3 separate regions of the Homo sapiens genome follow, and regions 2 and 3 are each linked to region 1. The links are contacts of gene promoters, found by promoter capture Hi-C in blood cells and fetal thymus (Javierre and others, 2016). All regions are on one chromosome and are shown on one strand. Each heading gives the region's core, a stretch centred on a gene start or on the middle of the fragment in contact. The rest is flanking DNA. Distances are from core to core; before and after follow the strand shown.

The links. Contacts are between HindIII fragments. The CHiCAGO score rates a contact against its expected background, and 5 or more counts as called.
Region 2: a fragment that was not itself captured here is called in contact with the fragment with the promoter of C1orf53 in region 1 in 16 of 17 cell types (megakaryocytes, M1 macrophages, M2 macrophages and 13 more); the score reaches 19.3 in megakaryocytes.
Region 3: a fragment that was not itself captured here is called in contact with the fragment with the promoter of C1orf53 in region 1 in 2 of 17 cell types (M1 macrophages and M2 macrophages); the score reaches 6.7 in M1 macrophages.

Annotation. Positions count from the first base shown.
Region 1 is chr1:197,900,614-197,904,448 of GRCh38, forward strand. C1orf53 (chromosome 1 open reading frame 53) reads left to right here and starts at 2,017. Exons shown (of 3, transcript NM_001024594.3): 1 at 2,017-2,300. The coding sequence starts at 2,037. RefSeq lists silencers at 1,902-2,051, 2,222-2,471. The HindIII fragment of the contact is 7,446 bases long and covers 1-3,835 here.
Region 2 is chr1:197,618,185-197,622,019 of GRCh38, forward strand. All of the region lies in intron 10 of DENND1B (DENN domain containing 1B), which reads right to left. Among named protein-coding and RNA genes, the nearest start is that of DENND1B, 160 kb to the right of the region's middle. The HindIII fragment of the contact is 2,428 bases long and covers 961-3,388 here.
Region 3 is chr1:197,638,901-197,642,735 of GRCh38, forward strand. It overlaps DENND1B (DENN domain containing 1B), which reads right to left. Exons shown (of 23, transcript NM_001195215.2): 10 at 3,811-3,835. Among named protein-coding and RNA genes, the nearest start is that of DENND1B, 130 kb to the right of the region's middle. The HindIII fragment of the contact is 2,339 bases long and covers 807-3,145 here.

The sequences.
Region 1 (3,835 bases), core at 767-3,266:
TTAAGCCAGGTGTGGTGGCTCACACCTGTAATCACAGCACTTTGGGACGCCGAGGCGGGAGGATCCCTTGAACCTACGAATTCAAGAGCAGCCTGTGCAACATTGGGAGACCGCATGTCTACAAATAAAAAGTTAGCCAAGCATGTTGGCACACACCTGTAGTTCCAGCTACTCAGGAGGCTGAGCTAGGAGGATGACGTGAAATCAGGAGTTAGAGATTGCAGTGAGCTATGACTGCACCACTGCACTCTAGCCTTGGCAACAGAGTGAGACTCTGTCTCAAAAAAAAAAATACTGTTTTTAAATTTTGAAATAATTACAGGTTCACATGCAGTTGCAGATATGGTACTGTGTTTACTTCACCCAGGTTCCCCCAATGCTTACACCTTACATGCTTACAATATGAAAACCAGGGATTTGACATTAAAACAATGTATGTATAGCTCCATGGCATCTTATCACATGTAAATTTTTGTAATCATCATAGTCAAGATACAGAATTATTCTGTTACCTACAAGATCTCTGTTGTTCAAGCCCTGTACAGTCCACTTCCACCCTCTCATCTTCACCAAAAGAAGTTTCATGTAACAATATGTACTCTTGTACATATGTATCTATATAAGATATGTATCTATATAAGATAGTTCCATTTATTTTCTATTTAAATCTGGTCTAGTCTATTTCATTCCTGTAAAATGCTGTCTCTACCCTTTGAATCGATGTCATGGCCTATTAGTGGATCCTGATCCTTAATTTTAAAGACAATGCAGTAAATCAATCTCAGGTTTTTGTTGGTGCGGGGACCTGACTTATGGTGAATGTGAATAACATCACAGTTGTTCATTTTTGGTGATCTCATGTTTGGTCCCACTCTTCCACAGCTTTCTCTAGGGTCCCTCCTTCGCTTTCCAGATTTTAAACTCTCCTCAGATTACTTAACAGTCTCCAGATCCTAATTTTTTATTCCAACAAAAAGAAAATCAATTTGCAAAATATAATACCAATTTATTAATTCACTGAGATTTTTAATGAACCAATAGGGTTGTTTCAATCACCTCCTACTAAGATTTAAGAAAATGAAAATATGACTACAGGGTTGCATGGTAAACACAGAAACCAAAAAACACGTAGTGATGGTCTATAGTGGCTTAGTCGCCTTTCTCCTGTACAACTGAATAATCTACTTTTGTCCTCAAAGATCAATTCCTGCCCTCCCAGTATTGAAGAGCACTAACAAAATTGGTACTCTTCAGCCCTCCTTTTCTTGAAACCCAGACGGGGGGTAGGAAGATGGGGTGGTGTTAATTTAATCCTAACACCTGAAATTACTTCCCGGGCTTGCCGTAATTTTCTCAAATACAATTATGTGACGGTATCAAGATCACTTTCATCCATCAGAAAGGAGATAATAGTTTTAGGTTGGATTTTGTAAATATTCAGCAACATGAACACAACACCTTTTCTTATTCAGTGTGCGATTTTACTTTTGGCCCTTATTCTAGGGTGGGCCAAAGAACCAAGCAAAGAAGGCTCCGCTTCCACCTTTATTCCTATCACATACTACCTGGAAACACTCAGCCTTTTCTGGATAGGCCCAAGGTGGTTATTCACAAACCTCGGGTCTTTTGATCACTTTCTGGGATCTTAACAGTTGTGGAGATTATACTGAATGATCCCAAGTCCAGTCTGACATAACAAAAAATGTCCACCTTTCAGCTGGGTGGGCGCGGGGGAAGAAGGAAGAGCTTAGAATTTAAGTCCAAAGATGTGGAAACACCAGGCTCTTCCCCGTCCAGGCAGCTCATCAGAGCCTCGTTAGCTGCCTTAAAAGCCCATTTTATTTCCGCAGCGGGCCCGCTGGTGAAGGCAGAAGGCTCAGTCCGTCCGCCTCCACCTGCTGCCACGGCAGCGCGAACCGACCCCACGCAGCGATGGCCACGAGCTGCCCAAGACCGGCTCGCCGCGCCCAGGCCCGCGTTGGTCGCCCCTCCGGGCCCCAGCGCCGGGTGCTCCGCCTCCCAAGGCCGGCGGCGGCATGGCGGCCAGGCAGATCTGGGCACGGACGGGTGCCGCGCTCTGCAGGCAACCTTCCGCCGCCCCGCCGCCAGCACCTCTCTGGGTAAGAGCTGGGTTCCGACAGCAGCTCAGCTTAACCCTCTGCCCTGCTAACGAGGGAAACTGCGGCGGCTCCGCGCCCAGCACGCCCGGTAGGCCGGAGAGAGCGGCGAGGCCTTCGGTGAGCGAAGAGTTAACCGCGGCGGAGCGACAGATCGCGGAGCTGCACGCTGCCGCCTGCGCGGTGAGACTCCCTCCTGCCCGCCCCGCCCCGCCGCGGCCGCCCCGGGCTCGGCGCGCCTGCGCATCCCGGGCCTCTCCGGACCCGGAGGCCGCCCGGCAGAGGCAAAGGTTGCTGGATACCGGTGCGGTCCTGCCTCGGGCGACATTCGCGCACGCACACGAACTTCCAGCCCCGACATTTTCGCGGGAAACCTGTGTCTGTCTTGAGTATGAGTGTGATTTGTTTTCCGATCAGCGTCCGAGCTAAACTCCGGTCGCAGTGTGGGACCCACTACCACTCTTTTGTGGTGTATGTGTGTGTGTGTTGCGGAAGGGGGTGTTAAGGAATTGATGGAGAAGGTGGAGGGACTGAGAAGTCACAACAAAAATGTGTTGTGTGTTTTTCTGCATTGTCAGTTGAACACTTAGCAATCCAGTGATTCTTAGAGTGAGAAAAAAAGACATTGACACATTTATTTTAATTTTTCCATTGCCTTCTTGTCCTTTCTCTTAACTCTTAACGGAGCAGAGGGAACTACAATCTGGCATTTGTAGACACTCAGCTGTTTTCTCCTGTTTTGCGGATTTGACAATTGTCTGTTAGTACCAGTATCTAAACTTCTCTCCCTTTACGCCTTCTAACACAGTCTGCGTGAGTTTAAAGGCAGCATGGTTACCTTTACAAAAGAAACAGTGAGAAAAAAAGAGAAACTGACTATAATAAAGATAGAAAAGCAGTATGAAATGAACCCATTTAATAAGCTATGTGTGTGTGCCTCCAGTACTTGATGGGACTAATATTATATGGTATGACTTGAGCCAAAGGGGTAGAGAAGAAAATCCCGGAGGTTGCCTAAAATTGACTTATTTAAATAATGACAGTTAGTAGGCCCTGAGAATCCACTGTCGGTCTGACCCATTCAAGTGCTGAAACTGAATAAAGACTCATTAGGAAGTGACTGGCAGCTTTTGATTGTTCTTGTTTATGCTCTCCTTTTAAAAATAATGTATATAATTTGTTCTCATACTTCGCAATATAGATATGGTGGATATTAAAGAAAAGTGTCATTCTCCTTAGAGCAAACACCAGTATCATGTGAAGAAATTTTCAATCAGTCTAGGGAAGGAAAGGAACTTTTTCTCACTCGGGAAATTCACATTTGTTTCATCAGTGTCAGTATCACAGGTTAAATGACTATCCAGGTGACCATAAGTAAGCCCAGTAAATAACAAGCTGCTTGTTTTTCTTTTTCGACAAATCTGAGCCCCCTCACTATGGTCCTTCTTCCAGCCTCAAAGCAGATAGCTCTCTTACCTTTCTCCGGGTACCGATGCGCATCACTGAGCATCTTGCTCTCCAGTCAAACTGTCAGCACCCTTGCTTCATCTTTGTCTGTGGCCACCATTACGTGAGGCTCATTTACTGAGGACAAATTAAGTTTGTGTGGGCAGCCAGCAAGCTCAGAGGTGCTCAATCAACATGGAAAGCTGTAGAGCAGGGGCATGCGCAGGAGCAATCTGTTAGGCTTCCAGGTTGCCAGATAATTGCCCTCAGAA
Region 2 (3,835 bases), core at 925-3,424, 280 kb before region 1:
GGGCAAATTGCCAAAGAATGAAACATGAGCCAGTTAGGAGAGTCTGGAAGCTGCAATAATATCAGGGGACTTGAATGTTCGACAGTTGGAGCTTCAGTAATGTGTGAACTGCGGGTTACGGTATCAAGAGACTCTGTTCACTGACACATAGAATGTCACTATTGACCAGCAAACTGCCCAAGCTTGACAGCTGTACTACAGGAAGCCAAGTATATCATAATTTCATATTTAAACTGTTCATTCCAGATTAACATTTTGTTTCCTAGCTTTATATCACAACAGCTGTAATTACACTGTTGCTATTTTAAAGGTAATTGCCATTTTAATTGTTTTGTTTTGGTAAGCAGTTAATTAAACATTTTTTAGTACTTAACAAAAGGATATCACTTTTTTCTCCCATCTTCTGACCCTCATCAGAATTCTTTTAATGTGACTTTCTTTCCATTTTAAATTATATTTCTGTAGATGTAAAGTCATTTTTATGCATAAAGCAATAATTAAATCAGCATTCTTAATCATTTTAAAGTTTTGCTATAGTCTGTATTTCAAGGTTACCGATTAAATTATTTTATTCAACTTGAAGATCAGAATTAAAAAAAAATCTGAAAATGAACCAGACTTTCTATAAACCGTTTTCTCTATTATTATACAAAGATATTTAAAGAAACTAAGTGATAAGCACAATTAATTTAAAAAAATGAATGTACACAAAGCTATCCAAATCCTATTATTAGCCACATTTGTCTATGTTTAAGTGCAAAATAGATCCATTACATAAAGTAAATTAAAATAACTCGATTTGAACCAAAACCAAAAATTTTTATTCAAAGTATATGCATCTTTGCCATATGTATTATATTTTTTCCAGTCATGTTTTTAATCAGTTTTGTATGGCAAATAATGTATTTTGATTTCACTTAGGATGTTATCATTAAAGGATTTTACTACCTTGTACTTACAAGCTTTAATAGGTTATGATAGTATTCCTTCAATAAGTATTACTTTTTAAATTCCTTAATTAGAGCCTACAATATGCCACTAGGAGGCATTCAAATACTTCCATTTAACAATTATAGACCATGGATTTATTTATGTTACAAACTGCAGCTAGAGGGAAATGAAAATGGGGTTGATCTAACTCATTGTGTCAAATTCTCCAAGAGCTCTCAGGTACTCCTTAGTTGTAAATTAGGCCTCTTTAAGACTGTATTAACTCTTTCCACCCCCTTTTTAACCTGATGGGCTAAAAGAGCTTATGAAGCGTTGAAAGGCAGCTAATTATTCAATTTCTCAATCTGCACACAGATGACTTTTTAAACAGCTCATTTAAAGCCTTAAAAACAACAAAAAAGAGAGAGTGTTCTTTTTTTGTTACTGAGCAAATAAAAACTGTAGCAAGAGGAAAAACACGTTCTTAATGTGAGGTATTATATTTAATACCTCACTTTATTTCACTGGGCAATTTATTTCACTGGGCATACCCAGAGTCCAAAGCACTCTACTAAATGCCATGTAAATACTTTCCCTGCCTCCTTACTGGTCATCCTTAAATGAAGTTTTATTAGTTATTCGCTAACAAAATTCAACATTATCTGATGAATTTGACTGATTTCTTAGAGGATGGTTTCTGTAATTATATGCAGAGTCACAAAATTTCTGCAATGGCCAGCATCTGGTAGAGGGTTATGCCTGCTAATCAAGATCTACCAGAAGAGAACCGAGTCTACAGGACTTGGCAACTTTCTGGATGTGGGGTATAGGTGACAAGGAGAGGAAAAAATATATGACAACTCCTTCCCAACCACAGTTCTGGAACTAAGCAACCAGAATGAATTATTAAAGGTAATATAGCAAAAGTGTCAGGTTTAAGTAGAATTATAAGGAATCTGCTTTGGCAAATATTTATTCTGTTAACCATGAGACACCTAAATGGAGATTTCCAAAGAAGACGGAAGCATCCCAAAGATAATCCTCCATATTCACCTAGTAGCATGCAAGAGCTGTGAAACTTAAAAAAAAATGAGAAAATACTATTATGGCATATTCTTTTACAGATGATAGCAAAGTTGCAAGTAAATAAAATAAAACAAATTTACTAGAAAATGTAACACATTCATATGTAAATTGCATAAAATCATAACATGTATATTACAGACACAAAATTAGGGCTCTGCCACCAACAAGCCATGTGATCTCTGGCACATCTACAAATATAACCATGTCTCAGTTTTCTGATCTTTAAAATAAGAACTCTATGCTAGATGATCTGTAAGTATTTTCTCTCATAGATCAAACATTCTTTATTTTTAGATCAGATGAATTCTATCTTTTTTATATTCTTATGTATTGAGATTTCTTCTACCCTGGTGGCTAACGGAATACTATGACTGGACTATAATTCAGATCCACTTTCAAAATATATCTAAAAGTTTAAGTGCTTTAAAGTGCTTTAATAAAGTAGGTGCTCTAAAGTCCATAAGGTAATTATGCAACTGAAAATATTATAATAATTTTTTTGCTTAATTCAACAAAAATTTTGAGTGCCTGCTATATGCAATCGAAATCCCTATGAGGCAACAGGGACACAGTACTAAACAGAACAAAGTCCCCGTTTCTATGGAGCTTATGTGTTAGTGGAGAAAGCAAACAATAAACAAGTAAAATAAATATTGTCAGAGATTAGATCTATAAAGAAACCTAAAGTAGGGAGTGATGGGGGTGGGGAGCTATTTTAGATAGGAGGATTACAGAAGAACTCTAACGTGGTGACATATGAACTGAAACCTAACTGAAGGGAGAGAGTAAACTCGTGGATTTGGGAAGAAGAGCATTCCAGGTAAATTAAACGAGGCATTCAGAAGTCCCAGGTGAGAACATGCTTGGCATCTTCACAGAGCAATGGGGAAGTCAGTGAGATCAGACTGGAGGAAGTGGGAGAATGGCAGGAGATGAGGTCAGATAGAGAAGCAGAATCAATGATGGAGAGCCTTCTAGGACACGGCAAAGACTCTAAATATTATTCTCGATGACATTTTTACATACCTCTGAAGAGAGTGCTATCATAATAAACTATTTACCTGGAACATTTGAGAATATACAAATTAAAGAAAAATATACAAATTAAAGGAAAATAGAGCCTTCTAGGACATGGCAAAGACTCTAAATATTATTCTGGATGACATTTTTACATACCTCTGAAGAGAGTGCTATCATAATAAACTATTTACCTGGAACATTTTGAGAATACACAAATTAAAGGAAAATAAACTACATATTTTAGAAGTTTGGTTTGCAATATAAAGTACTACAAAGAAATGAGAACAATTTAATAAGCCAAGTAAGAAGAATCTTATTAATTTAACATTATTTATGATATATTGAATCTTTAAGCTTAAAGAAAAATGAAATATCATATAGTCTTTCTTTGGGCTAGAATTACCCAAGTATCATATGTCTGATTAGTGACAGGGCCAAGACTCCACATTGCTTTTCTAATATCGTCAGTTGCTTCTTTAATACCACAATTGTTCCTCACGAAAGCAGAGAAAAGGGTAAAGGGAAGAATTTCCATGTTTCAGTTCAAACATATCTCTGGCATTATACCCTGAAACTGAATAATACACTGTTATAATTTTCAGATAAAAATGAATTTACCAAATAAAGGTTTATGGAAAAAAATTTCTTATCTTTATGTGACATATGATATTTAAAATGCACATATATTTTCATAAAGCATACCCAATATATTGAACTAATACAGTTCCAAAGAGCTGACTAATGCAAAATAGAAACATTGGTAATACTGATTTACTATGGACTTCAATTACAACATAAG
Region 3 (3,835 bases), core at 726-3,225, 260 kb before region 1:
ATTAAACTCAAACATGCAAAAATATAATAATAGGTACTAACACAATACCACACTTTAAAATATAGGGAGAAAACCTATTAGAATGTTGAAAACATAACAATATTCTTGATATCTGTGCTTACATATCTTAATTTTTTTAATTTTAAACTTTTCATCTTTTAAAGGTTAATTTTTTTTTTTTTTGACATAGTCTCACTCTGTCACCCAGGCTGGAGTGCAATGGCGTGATCTCGGTTCACTGCAACCTCCGTCTCCCGGGTTCAAGTGATTCTCTTGCCTCAGCCTCCCGAGTAGCTGGGACTACAGGTGCGTGGTACCATGCCTGGCTAATTTTTGTATTTTTAGTAGAGATGGGGTTTCGCTATGTTGGCCAGGCTGGTCTCGAACTCCTGACCTCAGGTGATCTGCTCACCTCGGCCTCCCAAAGTGCTGGGATTACAGGCGTGAGCCACTGCATCCGGCAAGAAATTATCATTTTTAACCACAAACAGCACCTAAAGAAAAGGAACCTCAAGCTAGCTGATTCTCTAATGAGAGTGTCACCACTAAAACCTACAGCAAGCTGTAAGGTTTATAATTATCATTCTCTTATAACTATGAAAAATCATGATTGTCAAAAAGTAAATAACTGAGACAAAATTTCTAAAACTACAATAGAATTATGAATGTTAGGCCACCTTTACATATATTCCTCTAAAAATTAAGAGTTGGGCTGTATACTTAAAAAATTAAAAATGGATAAAACGTTAATTTCGAACATTAAACACATTATAGTCTCCGTGATATATAAAAATATGAGTATAAAAAGCTTAAAAACAAGTAAATTCATTGATTTTACTTTTAATTTACATAAATTACTTTTAATTTATGTTAAGAAATGAGTCCTTGACCTTAAATGCCACTATGCATGGAATTTATAGCAGATATATTTTATATACTGTATATATAAAAGAATTATTCAAGACAGATTCAAGTAAAGCAGCTTCCTCCATAAAAGAAGACTAAGATCATGAAAGAGAACTTGAATTATGTTTCTTTTATCAGCCCAACGGTCCCAGAGAGTGAACCAAAACAGAGCTGGTAACTTAGAGGTGACATCACCATCAAGTTTTCATGAATTGTCATAAACAGTTGATAATAAATTGACATCAAACATAGAAAACAACTCCCCCAAAATACTAAGCCTTTATGATAACAATTTGTTTTTAAAGCCAAATACTAAGTTAAAAGATAGTAATGTTAATTTTTACTCTAACTGCAGATGTAGACTATTATAAAATTAAATGTAGAGGCCGGGTGCGGTGGCTCACGCCTGTAATCCCAGCACTTTGGGAGGACAAGACGGGTGGATTGCTTGAGGTTAGGAGTTCGAGACCAGCCTGACCAACATAGTGAAACCCCGTCTCTACTAAAAATACAAAAATTAGCTGGTTGTGGTGGCAGGCGCCTGTACTCCTAGCTACTTGGGAGGCTGAGGTAGGAGAATATCTTGAACCTGGAAGGCAGAGGTTAGAGTGAGCCAAGATTGTACCACTGCACTCTAGCCTGGGCAACAAAGTGAGACTCTGTCTCAAAAAAAAAAAAAAATTAAATATAAACTATTATAAAATTATAGCTCATAATTACTAAACATATATTCTATGCAGATATCATTCTAAGCACTTTATATATATGTATTTCCTTAATCTTTACATCAACCCTATGAGATTAAGGCTACTATTGCTCCTACTCTACACTTAAAGAAACTGAGTCAAACAGATTACTTGGTCATTAAGAGGTGGATATAAATTAAATAAAACACCAATATTTTTCAAAAACATATACTCAGATTTATTTCTAATACACAAATACAGTAGCTTATGCTTCACTCACATAGCTTATTCCCTCACTTTCTTTGGATCTCTGCTCAAATACTACCTCACTGAGTTGGGCACAGCGGCGTGTGCCTATAGTCCCAGCTACTTGGAAACCCAAGGCAGGAGGATCCATTGAGCCCAGGAGTTTGAGACCAGCCTGGGCAACATAGCAAGACCCTGTCTCAAAAAAACAAACAAACAAAATACTACCTCATTGGAGAGGCCTTCCTTACATAAAATGGAAACCTGTCCATCACTGTCTACCCTGTAAACCCACTCACTTTATCCATTATGTAACCCTAGCTAATAAATAATTGCTATTTGTTTGCTCACTTGTTTACAAACTGTTTCATGCCAGTCGAATATGGTTAATGTCTAGAAAGTGCCTGGCACATAGTATGTGCCTAATAAACATTTGTTACATGAATTAATCCTGATAAAATTTAGTTCCAAAGCCTATTATACAATCTTTTTAATTTTGAGGACAATATCCATTTAAAAATATCCTTTTTAATCTTAAAAAAAAATCATGTTTAAAAAATGAGGAGGAGGAGCTGGGGAGAAAGAAGAAGAATGTTTCACTTCAATAGTAAGTTAAAAAATAGCAGATAGGCAAATTAAAATATCAAATGAGTCAAACTGAATTTCTTGACATCTCTAAGATGTGTAAGAAAAAAATTACTTGTGTCATTGACTAGCACTTATTCTCTGATATTACTGCATCATTTATCCACCCTTACTCTTTTAAATGCATATATTTTTCAATATGTAAAGTGCATTTTCAACTTTTAGGAGTGAGCATATCAAATTACAATTCAAAATCTCAAAATCGTATTTTTGAGATTTTCGTGAATTATAAATTCATACAAATTATATGTACAATTGTATGTATTTTTTTCAATTGTAGAGTAATGGAAATAACCCAAAAATTAGAATCAAAAGACTCAATTTCACATTATCTGTCTCTAACTAGCTGTTTGGCCTTGAAGTGGTCATTTAATCTCACTGAAAATACCTTTCTCACTGTTAAATGTTAAACAGATATCCTACAGAAATCCTGAAACTCCTTCTACTTTAAATGCTAAAATACAGATTAAGGTTTTTATTTCTACTATAGGAGAAGAAAACATTAAAAATATGGTTTTATTTATCAATTAATCAAATTTGTGAGGAAGAAAATTCATAAAATATTGAATAATAGTTTTTGCTAAATAAATACATCATAGATTATCTAAAACTATATTTAAATTTGTATTTAAAAATTTAAGTTGAAAATATTAAATTTTTGAAGCTTAAATGAGAAAAAAATTATAAAATCTAGCAAAATACTTCTGAATATTTTTCTATGACCCAAGAAAAATCTTTCTCTCCCTGCCTTTACCATATTAATAAAGACCTTCCAAAAGAACATTTTAGTGAATGTCATAAAACCTGTGATTTATAAAAAATGCTACTTTGACTTTTAAGTTATTATCAGCCCAAAGAGCTGCTCTAAATCAAACTATTATACAATCTACTCCCAAACCACTACTTGGCAACAAAGATGAATCTACCTATTACCAGGTTAGGATAGCAGCTATTATCATGGCCCCTTGATTTCTTTCAAGTGGCTCCAATGGAAAAAGCCACAAGTGAATAATAAAAATCTCATAATAGCTCTTAAGAATTCTTTATATGGTAGAAGGCACTAAAATGAACTCTGGAGAGTTAAAAAGAAAAAAAAACTCTCATCTCCTGATAAGAAAAAATAATTAACCTGACTTAATGCATCTGAGAAGGCTTCCTATAAATCAGACTTTTGTACTTCAAGAGCCAGATTAAAACCATACATCAAAAACGTATGTAGATATTGTCTTATAAGTACACATAGCACATTTCTAAATCTGCAAAGGTTTTTAGGTCTTTTTGTGAAACACTCAATACCTGCTACTTAAAAGAAGTGTGAAGTACTTACAGTGCTTAATTTGCTCGAGATAATC